2 separate regions of the Homo sapiens genome follow, and region 2 is linked to region 1. Evidence: promoter capture Hi-C in 16 types of primary human blood cells and fetal thymus (Javierre and others, 2016). All regions are on one chromosome and are shown on one strand. Each heading gives the region's core, a stretch centred on a gene start or on the middle of the fragment in contact. The rest is flanking DNA. Distances are from core to core; before and after follow the strand shown.

Region 1 (6,362 bases), core at 1,805-4,304:
TTAAAACATCTCACTGTGGTACAAAAGATCAGTAAAGAACTCCTTCTCTATATCAAATAAAAGGGCAGGAAAGGAAAGTGCCACAGACCTTTTTTAATCTGCTCTAGGGATAATGTTTGGTGCTTACCACTATTCTATCTAGAAGCATTAACAGTATTTAAAATTTATACTATTCTCATTTCTGGGAGCATTCCACATTCTATCTATATCTGGATCTATCTCAGAGTTTACCAAGTCACATTGTCACATTGAACTAATGAAGCAAAACTCTCTACATCCACAATAGACTTTGTTCAAGACTATTTATTGAGCACTTTCTATGTGCCAGCTTCTGTTGTAGTGCTAAGGACTGCAATAGTGGGAATACAAAAGTCCAAGTCTCCTGGAGTTGATATTGTATAGAAAACAAATAAATTAATTAAATACATACAGATAATAATGAATGCTGGGAGGGAACAAAATAGTGTCTTGGGTTTGAAAATATTATTTAAGGAAGCCAGGAAAGGCCTTTTTCATGAGGTAACATTTAAGTTGAGACATGAAGGATGAGAAGCCACTAAAGTGAAGTGCTAAGGAGAAAAACAATTTTCTCAGCACCAGAAGAGTATGCATGACGACCTGACACAGGAAAGAAATGTGTTATTAGAAACCAGTATATCTTGAGCCCAATGAAGAGTTGGGAAAAATGGTATGAGATGAGATGGGAAGTTACCTGAAGTTACTGAATTGTTCCATTAACTAACACGGGAAGTTACTGAAGAATGACATGGCCCAATGGGTTTTATAAAAGCTTATTCTTTCAGCTATGTAGAGAAGGGATTAGATAGGGTTGAGATTAGAAGCTGAGCGATCCCTTAGGAGACTAATTTTCAGGCAAGTCAATATGGAAGATTAGACTAGGGTGTTGACAATAGAAATGGAGAAAAGCAGATGGATTCAAGATATATTTTGGAGGTAGAACCAGTGAAACTTATATTCAGAATTTTCTTAAAAGAGACCATAAGGAAGTGAATTGAAAATTGGGTGAAGGAATGAATGTATTTAAAAGGAAAAGGTGACATTTTGAGGAAAGAAAGAATGGCAAAAGTATACACTAAGTAACAACCTATTAATAAAAGTAACATATTAAAGTGGTCACATTTACAACTCTAATCTGATGTCCTACACTGGGCCTCAATTATCTTAAAATAAGATATTAAACCAAGGCAGAAAAAGAGAAGAAATACTTCAAGGTTTTTAGCCTTAAATGGTTGAGCCCAGGCCACTGAAAAAAATACAATTTACCCAATTAAAATAACGAAGCAAGATTTAACTAAGATCATTTTAGTGAGAAACAGTTGTTCTCACCCTGGCTGCCCATTAGAATTCCCTGGGGAGCTTTTAAAAACTAGAAGCCCAGGTTCCACTGGAGTGATTCCGATTTAATTGGTCTGAGGTAGACCCAGGCATCGGTATTTTTTAAAAAGCTCCTTAGAGAATTCTAATAAGCAGCCAGGATGGAGAGTCTTGAGTTAGAAGTAGAGTACAGCTAAGGATGCCATATCAATAAACCTATTCTGCTAATGAAAGATTAATAGAGAAAATAGGATGAAAGAACTTTGATCCCAGACAAGGAATACAGGCCTATTGGTTACAAGGACATAATTCAAGACCACAAGAAAATAAAAATCCATTTTACTCTGAGTGACTTTTTTTTCAAGCTGGCAGAAAATGGCATTATGCCCACCTTGTTAATAACACGGACACCCATACAGATGCCACACATATTTAAAAACATATTTTATTTCCATTATGGACAACAAAAAGAGAGTAACAGCTGATGGTTGACTACAAGAAAAATATAAGAGAAAGAGGAGAGTGTCAATATTGCCCGGACAAGAAAACACAGGAAAAAATGAATTGCATTGAGAAAGTGATTAAAAGAAATTGATTCCGTTATTTCTGAGAGAAAAAAACGCATATATATATAGAATACACCTAGCAACGAGTTTGCTTGTATCACATGGCTCTTGAGTCTGCACTTTTCAGGATTTAACTCTTAAGAGAGCCACAGAATTATCAGAGCAGAGCCGAAAGCCAAGTAACTATTCTTCTAAGTAGAACCAGAAACCTAGTTCTTCCCCAACTGCAATGAAGATTCGCTGGTGGGTGAATGGGCAACTAAAGGCCAGAGAAGTTCTATTATTTGCCCTAAATCACTCAACTAATTAGTGGTCATACTGGAATCAGAACCAAGATTTTGCATTGTTAGGTTTTAATTTTGTTACATTTGCACTCTAACTGCACTGAAAACAGAAAAAAGAAATGCGTAGTGCAGTTTCTAAATTGCCACAGCTGGAGCACTTTAAGAGCTACAATTGTCCAGTTAAGGCGGTAGTGGGTGGATGGTGCTGCCATGTTAATTCGGTGGAATAAAACCAGAGGTGAGTTAGGCCGGGCGCGGTGGCTCACGCTTGTAATCCCAGCACTTTGGGAGGCCGAGGTGGGCGGATCACCTGAGGTCGCGAGTTTGAGACCAGCCTGACCAACAGGGAGAAACCCCGTCTACCAAAAATACAAAATTAGCCGGCCCTGGTGGCATGCGCCCGTAATCCCAGCAACTCGGGAGGCTGAGGCAGGAGAATCGCTTGAACCCAGGAGGCGGAGGTTGCGGTGAGCGGAGATCGCGCCATTGCACTCCAGCCTGGGAAACAAGAGCGAAACTCCCTCTCAAAAAAAACAAAAAACAGAAAAACAAACAAAAAAAACAGAGGTGAGTTCAGCAGAAGAAACAAAGGTGGATTATTAGTCTTAAGTGTGCGTGCCTACTTCAGGAAGGGAGTGAAAGCAAAAAACTGAGGAGCTAAGGGTGGGAGGGGGAATGAAAGGATCTCAGAATGTGGGCGTCGTGGGTGGGAAAAGGGATGCCAGGACACCAGAAGAGCAATACAAAACAGCTCCCGTGAGCAGGCACAGGAGACCTTCCGCGCCGCCGGCCGGGCGACCCCGCAGGAAGTAGGAAGGACGAGCGCGCACTACAAGTCCCAGAAGCCCCCGTTTCCTGGAGCCCGCGCCGTGCCGCGCTACGCCCGCCGGGAGCCGGGCAGAGCGGCCAAGATGTCGCAGCCCAAGAAAAGAAAGCTTGAGTCGGGGGGCGGCGGCGAAGGAGGGGAGGGAACTGAAGAGGAAGATGGCGCGGAGCGGGAGGCGGCCCTGGAGCGACCCCGGAGGACTAAGCGGGAACGGGACCAGCTGTACTACGAGTGCTACTCGGACGTTTCGGTCCACGAGGAGATGATCGCGGACCGCGTCCGCACCGATGCCTACCGCCTGGGTATCCTTCGGAACTGGGCAGCACTGCGAGGCAAGACGGTACTGGACGTGGGCGCGGGCACCGGCATTCTGAGCATCTTCTGTGCCCAGGCCGGGGCCCGGCGCGTGTACGCGGTAGAGGCCAGCGCCATCTGGCAACAGGCCCGGGAGGTGGTGCGGTTCAACGGGCTGGAGGACCGGGTGCACGTCCTGCCGGGACCAGTGGAGACTGTAGAGTTGCCGGAACAGGTGGATGCCATCGTGAGCGAGTGGATGGGCTACGGACTCCTGCACGAGTCCATGCTGAGCTCCGTCCTCCACGCGCGAACCAAGTGGCTGAAGGAGGGCGGTCTTCTCCTGCCGGCCTCCGCCGAGCTCTTCATAGCCCCCATCAGCGACCAGATGCTGGAATGGCGCCTGGGCTTCTGGAGCCAGGTGAAGCAGCACTATGGTGTGGACATGAGCTGCCTGGAGGGCTTCGCCACGCGCTGTCTCATGGGCCACTCGGAGATCGTTGTGCAGGGATTGTCCGGCGAGGACGTGCTGGCCCGGCCGCAGCGCTTTGCTCAGCTAGAGCTCTCCCGCGCCGGCTTGGAGCAGGAGCTGGAGGCCGGAGTGGGCGGGCGCTTCCGCTGCAGCTGCTATGGCTCGGCGCCCATGCATGGCTTTGCCATCTGGTTCCAGGTGACCTTCCCTGGAGGGGAGTCGGAGAAACCCCTGGTGCTGTCCACCTCGCCTTTTCACCCGGCCACTCACTGGAAACAGGCGCTCCTCTACCTGAACGAGCCGGTGCAAGTGGAGCAAGACACGGACGTTTCAGGAGAGATCACGCTGCTGCCCTCCCGGGACAACCCCCGTCGCCTGCGCGTGCTGCTGCGCTACAAAGTGGGAGACCAGGAGGAGAAGACCAAAGACTTTGCCATGGAGGACTGAGCGTTGCCTTTTCTCCCAGCTACCTCCCAAAGCAGCCTGACCTGCGTGGGAGAGGCGTAGCGAGGTCGGAGGGGAAAGGGAGATCCCACGTGCAAGTAGGGGGAATATCTCCCCCTTTTCCCTCATAGCCTCTAGGGAGGGAGAGTGACTTCATTCTCCATTTGAAGAGATTCTTCTGGTGATGTTTACTTAAAAAGTGATCCCCCTCAACAACGGATACAGCGTGCTTATTATTGGGCATTTAGCCTCAAAAGCATGTAGTACCAAGCACTTGTATTTCCGTATATTTTGTTTCGCGGGGGAGTGAGGGGGAAGAACACGGATGAAAATGTCAGTTTTTGAAGGGTCCATGCACATCCCTGACACCTCACACCTTATCTAAGTCTGAAGCTGGGGAGAAAGGGGTTCATTTAGACTTCATACATTTCCAGTACGACTTTAGTATCTCTCCAGAGCCATATTTTCTCAGTCCGAATTAATTCCCCCTCCCTAGGTGCCTGTAGGCTATGGTACTTCTTCCTCATTGTTTTCTAGGTAAACTTCACTACTGGTAATTAAGGGGAAGGATATGAGGAAGCAGTTTAAATAGCCCTGTTCTCATTACTCTGACCACATACATCATAGGGTGCTAAAGTTGATGAACACATTAATCCGTTAAGTAAAATGGACTTTGTAATTGTACAGCATACCTAAGAAACTCAGAAGGTGCATTTAAGAGAGAGACCTGAAAGAAATAGTATGGATTTTTAAAAATTCTTGTCTCTACTATTATAACCAAAAAATATTTCTTGTATGTCCCATAAAAATATTTGTGTAATTCTTATGAAACAGGCTGGTAGAGGAGGTTTCTGAGCCTAGCCCAAGGGCTTATTCATCACCATGGGTAAATTATTTAAACTCACTTAATTAAGGAAAATATTTTCCCAGCTAGAAAAGTATACTCATTCTCATTTAAACTCTCTCATTTGGAGGGATCATGTGAGTTGGCCTACTTACAAGTAGTGAAAGTTCCCTTTTCAGTTTTGTTTTGTTTTGTTTTGTTTTTCTCTTTCACTCAGCCAAATGTGAAAGTTGTGAATTTAGGAAAATCACTTGTAATGAAGTGTGAATCTTGTTATCAAATTTATTTCTCTGATGTTTCCTTCCTTATCCTTGTAGCCAATAAAACATTGACATTCTCACGTTTTATAGATGAGGTAAAAAGTCTTGTGTGCTGTGAGTTATAATGCTTTTGCCTTTTTAATATTATTAGTTCTTAAGTGTTACAGCCCCTTCAGAATATAACTTCAGGACAATTCAAACTATGCTTAATGTATGATTTTCGAGCTTCTGTATGCTAAGAAAATAGGTGTGAAAAACTGGTGTTCTGAAATAGCCTAACATTTATTGTAATTCTGAATTTTCTGCCCTTTTATTCATTGCATATTAAAGTATTAGAGTATAAAAACTAATTTGCTAAACTTTGGTTGTATATAACACAGATCTTCCATCATGGAGAGATATACATGTACAAAATTATCAATTTACAAGATAATTGAGTAGCAAGCAGTACAGTTGTAACCGTCACCATTTTGATGCTAAGATAGTGATCATCTCATGTAAATGCTACAGTCACAGCAAGCTAGACTTAAGCTAGAGGGAAAATAGAGCTCCTTATAAGGTGTTCTATGTTTTAAATCAAATATTTATTTAGAGTTTGAGTGTGTGATTTTGAGTAGGTTTCTGGTGGTTTGGTTTGTTTTTTAAAAAAAACTTGATTTAACAATTCCTTTACTAAGTGATAAATGAGAATATTCTTCCAAATTCTATTTTTTATATATTTGATAAATACTATAGAGTTATCATTATCAGTATAAGCACATAAAGGGAACCTCAGTTAAAACTTGGAGGAACTATAGAAGTAAAGGGTATGTATTCCATAGTTAAAGTAAGCTTCAGGATTTTTATTACTCCTTCCCAGAAGAAAAATGAATTATAAAAATACAGCGACTGAAGCAATTAGTCAAGAGTTAGCATAACATAATGGCTACAAAATTGGACTCTGGAGCCAGACAGCCCATAGTAGAACCTAGGCTCCACCACTCTTTGTGACCTTGGGCAAAATATTAAACACCTTTTTTTCCTTCAAAATGGAGGAA
Region 2 (6,006 bases), core at 1,851-4,350, 2.3 Mb before region 1:
TTATAGTTTTTTAATAAATAATCTCATCGAAAGTTAAAAACTAAACTTCTATTTCCTGTTTGTTGAAATTTCTTAAAGAACAGAAGTTAAATTTTTTTGTTTATCTTGCATCTATTTCAATGATTGGATAATTTTCCCTACTTTATTCTGTTAAAGTGATTAAATGCCTTCATTGATACTTGGATACTAAAATAATCTTATAATTTTGGAATAGTTCCAACTTGGAATGGTATAGTGATTTTTATGTATTGCTAGATTTAATTTGCTGATTTTATGTTTAGGATTATTTTTTGTTTTTGAAGGAAACCAGCCTATTTCTTTCTTCTTATAATATGCCTGTCAATTTTTGTGCCAAGGTTATTCTTTTTTTATAAAATAAGTATCATAGTGCCCACTTTTTTTCTTCTCCCTGGGAGGATTTTTGTTGGATTGGTGTTTTATCTTATTTTGATGTTTGAACTTTCATTGTTTCTGTTAAAGCTGCCTGATTCTGGAATTTTCTTTGTGTTAAGGATTTTAATTAGAAATTTGCTTTTTGGTAAACATGGTCTTCATATTTTGTGTGCATATTAGTTATGGTAGACAAAGTTTTAAGAGTTTGTTCTACCCACATTTCAAATGTATTATCATATTTTTTTCATAATGTATACTTCATTATTTATTTATATATTTAGAGACAGAGTCTCACTCTCATCACCCAAGCTGGAGTTCACTGGCACAATCATGGCTCACTGCAGCCTTGACTTCCCAGACTCAAGTGATTCTCCCACCCCAGACTTCTGAGTCGCTGGGACTACGGGCACATGCCACAATGTCTGGCTAATTTTTTGTGTTTTTAGTGGAGATAGGGTCTCAACATGTTGCTCAGGCTGGTCTCGAACTTCTAGGCTCAAGCAATCCACCCACTGCAGGCTTTCAAAATGCTGGGATTACAGGCGTGAGCCACCGCACCCAGACTAATTTGTTTTTAAAAAGTAGAATCTTTATTGACAGTCTTTGTGTAACACTGATAATTATTATTTGTACCATCCCTCATGTGTCTTGATCTAGGTTATTGGGAGCTGATACAATTCTTTCTTAGTTTTTACAAAGAACCAACTATTTTGGCTTTAATTGCTCTCTCTGTAGTTGTTTGATTTTATTTTACTAATTTCTGTTTTTAGTTTTATTATGTCACATCTTCAACAAAGTTGGGCTTAATTTGTTATTACTTTATTTTAATAGATGATTTTATCATCAATTTTTCAGCCTCCCTTTCTCCTATAGCCATTTAATGAAAAAAGAAATCGCCCCCAAATATTTTTACATATAGTTCACAGGATTTATCATATATTAATTATATATTTCATTTTAAAATATGTTCAAAATTTTTGATTACTTCTAAGGCTTATAGGTTACTTAGATTTTTATTGTTATCTACACACATAAAGATTACTAAATTTGCTTTAAAAATTGATTTCTATCCATTTTGTTTTTATAGCATATAGTAATCCCTGCAATTTACTGTCCTTTTTTAAATGCTCTAATTGCATTTGAAAAAACTAGATATTCTCCAGGTGTTGGGTGCAATGTTGTAAATATGTCCATCTAGTCAGGTAATCCTGTTATTCAAATCTTCTGTCATTGCTGATTTGTTTTTGTATGTTCTATCAGTTACTGTAAGGTAAATTAAAATATCCCACTGTGATAACTGACTTGTTCCCTCTTACATCATCTTTTGCTCTGACATTTGTAGAACTGGTATATATGTGTGGCAGGTTCGTCTATTATAATACAATATTCATATTTTATTTCTACCAATGCTGTTTTCTTTAAATTGTTCTTCATTTAGTAATAGCATAGCTACACCACCATTTCTTGGCTAATTTTTTCACATATTTCTGTTTTCATTCATAGAATTTCAACTTGACATTTGAAGGGTGTCACTTCTTAGCTACAAGTTTCATTTTCTTATCCACTTAGCAGTAATATTAGTTGAAACATTAAGCCACTTTTTATTTAATATAATTATTTCTCAATTTGGATTTAAATCTACTATCTTACTATGCACCATTCAGCCACTTTTTACTTAATATAACTATTTCTCAATTTGGATTTAAATCTACTATCTCACTAGTTGTTTTTACTTTCTCAAACTATTTTATATACTTTTTTCTCTCTTTCACCCTCTTCCTTTGCATTTTGAAACAGTTGTTTATGGAATTATCCTGTTTCCAGTGAAGTAAATATTCTTCAAATATTCTGTAGTTTTATTCTACAGAATACAACATGCAACCCTAATCTGTTAACATCTAAAACAAAGAAATATTTTTTGTTTTTCATATAAAGCAAGGGCACTAGAAAACTTGAAATTTCATTCACACTCTGCTGCCACATTATGAGTTATTGTTTTTATGTTGTTTAATTCTATTTATGTTGTATACCACATAAAACATTACTACTATAGTTGTGTTATATAGTCACTATTTACTTACGTTTACCAACATATTTTTCTTTTGATGTCCAGTCAGGTATTTTTCATTATGTACTAGGTCATTTTTCACTGTGTACTAAGCACTGTGTGAAAAAATATATAGAAATAATTTTGGTTATCTCTAGCAAGTACTGAAGCCCACCTTTAATTAATATAAATTGAAGATCAAAATATATTGTCTTTTTGCCAAGGCTAGCTTTCTGCCACCAAAATGAATGAATTAAATAGTGCATAAATTCTCTAAGGATAAATATAACATCACAACCTATGACAATAGAAGGACACTCAAGGAAATCCCAGATATTACATTTTTGGCATTATCAGGCACAAAGTTTAAAATATGAGTAATAATATCAGGTAATAAATGGTAAAATGGAGATTTCTGCCAAAAACTAGAATTTAAAAAATAAACTGAAATTCCGTAATTAAAAAAAAATAATTTGAAACATGCAGTCAAAGGTAGGTTTAACAGCAAACTATGAAAAGGGACACATACTTAGTATGCTTCTTCATATCTTGCTGGCAATGCATATCATATTTTATGGTCTCTCATTAACCAACTTATCTAATATTGAGATAATATAAAATAAATTTTCCACATTCCAGTTGAGCCTCAAGAACGACAGAGCTCTACATTAGTTCCTGGCTGCAATGAATGTTCTACCTTTGGGCTCTATAATTTCAGCATGCTGAATACTACTGTGAGTTTCTCTAGTAGACAGAAATACTGTATGGGCTTTTGGAAATTCCCAATGAGAAAATAATAGTACAAACATGAAAAATCAAAGTTACGGCATCTGCTGTTCTCCATTTAAAAAGCAGATCCTGGTTTGTGATTGGTTTTGGTTGAAACTTTATGCCTGTCACAATACTCTAGGTGATAAAGTAACCTGAATTGCCAGTTATGATCAGTCTGTTCTCCGATCTACAGTCAATTCAGGTAGAGAATTTTTTTAATATAGAAGTATTATATATGAACCTTCGCTCAATGATTTGGAACACCTGAAGAAACTGCACAGACAGGTGACTCACTCTCAAGAAAACCCCTTCCATTGTTTTCCCATTTCTTTTTCAACTCACATCTCTGCCTTCATGTAGCATTCCCAATGATCAGTTCATGGAAGGAGAAATAGTTCAGTTTACTTAATGGATGGATCTAGACAGAGTGTTTGTTACCTTGGCCCAGAAAACATAATGAAGATAAATTATATTTTCAGATTGGAACTTTGGGTGATATATCTGATTGTTCATTTGTTGGAGAAAGACAGATGTCTGTAGTAAGAATCTACATTGATTCTTGTGAAGTTTTCTCATGTGTTGTCCAGCTGGTCAGAACTTGGATAAAATAAAATCAGAAAATTAGTTACGCTGTCTACAAGGGAGAGTTATGTAGATGGACTCCTCTGAATGTTCTCAGAGTGAAATATATTATTGTACTGTATAAAAACTACCAGAAGATTTGTATTGCAAAGCAAGCTATCAAAAATTTGAGAGACAGGGCGTGGTGTCTGACCCCCGTAATCCCAGCACTTTGGGAGGCCGAGGTGTGGGGATTGCTTAAACCTGGCAAAAACCCCCGTACCGGCTAAAAAAAAAAAAATTAGCCAAGCGTGGTGATATGTGCCTGTTGTCACAGCTACTCAGAAGCCTGAGGTGGAAATATAGCTTGATCAAGCCTGAGAGGTCCAGACTGCAGTGAGCCATAATTGCGTGGCCACTGCACTTCAGCCTGGGCGACAGCCTGTCTGAAAATTAATAATTGTAAAAATCAAAAAATATATATATTAGTTGGGAATGCAATCTGTAGCTGCACTACACTCTTTCTCCACAGTTTCCCAGTGCTTAACAGTGTTGTTCACAAAATACTAATGATCACAAGCATAAAAGGTATCTATTTAATCATTAGTATGGTTTTTTCCTCTGCACAGCTGTTATAGCATCTAGCACTGCTGAAGACTCAATCTTCACACAACTGACTCTAATGCTGAATTCCTGATTATGACACCACTGCCTGGGGAAAGTGTCTCACCACAACAAAGTAGGGGAAAGGATGGAGATTAGGAGATTTACCAACACCTCTTTTCTCATTTGCTCAACATTCCTGGTCAATGCAAAACTTCAGCAACCCAATGCATAATCGACCATCATACTTGTATTAATTTCCTACACGAATGTGTATTTGGGTCACTCATCATGTTTGGAGTTAGGTTCAGCTGAATGCCTGGCAGAGGATAGGGAATCTTGTAAAACTATCAAGCAATGATTACCTGCTTAGGCTATAGAAACTGCTATGGACACAGGAACAATGATAGTTCTGTTACTTGTTTTGTCCCCTGCCCCTAATACTTTTTCTCTAGTGAAAAATCAGTTGTGATGGCTAACATTTCAAGTTCACATGAAGAATGATGACACATTGACAACATCTTATGATAGCAGAAGAGCTTTTGGGACATGTGGTTCCTCGTTTGGACAAATTATCTTTAGTTAGATAATAGATGAGACCAGTGCTGTGGACCAAAAGGAACAGAACATGTGGGAAATCTTTACTCTTTTTTCTCCATATCCACACTCCACCCTTTACCATTCCTCTACTTATTATGGTTGATGAATATGGCTCCTTGCGATTCTGCTGCTTCTGTTTTCTTGTGGGGGGGGAGGGGGGAGATGGGGGATGGGGGATGGGGAAGAGGGGGATGGGGGAGGTGGGGTATGGGGAAGGAGGGGGATGGGGAGGGGGGATGGGGGAGGGGGTGGGGAGGCAGGGGGTGGGGGGATGGGGGTGGGGGGATGAGACGGGGAGGCAGGCGGGATGGGGGATGGAGGTGGGGGGATAGGGGGACAGGGAGATGGGGTATGGGGGACAGCGTGGGGGTATGGGGAAGAGGGGGGGTGGGGGGGAATGGGGGGAGGAGGGGAGGGGGGTGTGTGTGCAGGGGGAGGTCTGCAGTCTGGAATCTGGGTAGGAAATTGAATAAAGGGAGTAAAATGTGGCCAATGGCTTTTCCCTGACTCCTTCTCAGCAGGGGCACCTTAGGCTTGCTGGATTCCTCAACTAAAGAAAAGAGATTCATGTTAAACATTGTCTCCATCTACTACTCTACTTCTCCTTGGCCTTCAGAACTGGTGTGCTAATAATCCCAGGGCTAGTAGCCCTGGGGGATTATATTACCTCCTAAGATTTTCCTTTTGTAAATCATTATGTCCGTTCCATAAAAATTTCCCAATATGAGCAGTCCATGTAGTAGAAAGATCTGTTCTTTTTTTATTAAAATTTCTAAGTTATTGTCATTTTCTTTTGTAGATAGTGTTGTGCGTATTTAAGGTGTTCAACATGATTTTTTACAAATTATATGCAGATAGTAAAAGGGTTACTACAGTAAAGCAAATTAATGTATGCATTATCTCAAATAGTTACCCATTTTATGTTTTTTTGTGTGTGTGGAAACAACAGATTTCCACAAAATCTACTCATATAGCAGGAATCTCATATACATTACAATTTTATTACTTAGACTCCTTGTATTGTACCTTAG

What was found. The method cuts DNA at HindIII sites, captures the fragments that hold promoters and counts their contacts. A CHiCAGO score of 5 or more calls a contact.
Region 2: a contact is called between a fragment that was not itself captured here and the fragment with the promoter of PRMT6 in region 1, in 1 of 17 cell types (total B cells). The highest score is 6.6, in total B cells.

The regions. Positions count from the first base shown.
Region 1 is chr1:107,053,620-107,059,981 of GRCh38, forward strand. It overlaps PRMT6 (protein arginine methyltransferase 6), which reads left to right and starts at 3,055. Exons shown (of 1, transcript NM_018137.3): 1 at 3,055-5,675. The coding sequence starts at 3,097. The coding sequence ends at 4,224. RefSeq lists enhancers at 3,287-3,336, 3,357-3,496, 3,507-3,636, 3,647-3,856. The HindIII fragment of the contact is 2,330 bases long and covers 789-3,118 here.
Region 2 is chr1:104,752,877-104,758,882 of GRCh38, forward strand. No RefSeq gene overlaps it. Among named protein-coding and RNA genes, the nearest start is that of LINC01676, 860 kb to the right of the region's middle. The HindIII fragment of the contact is 7,329 bases long and covers 1-6,006 here.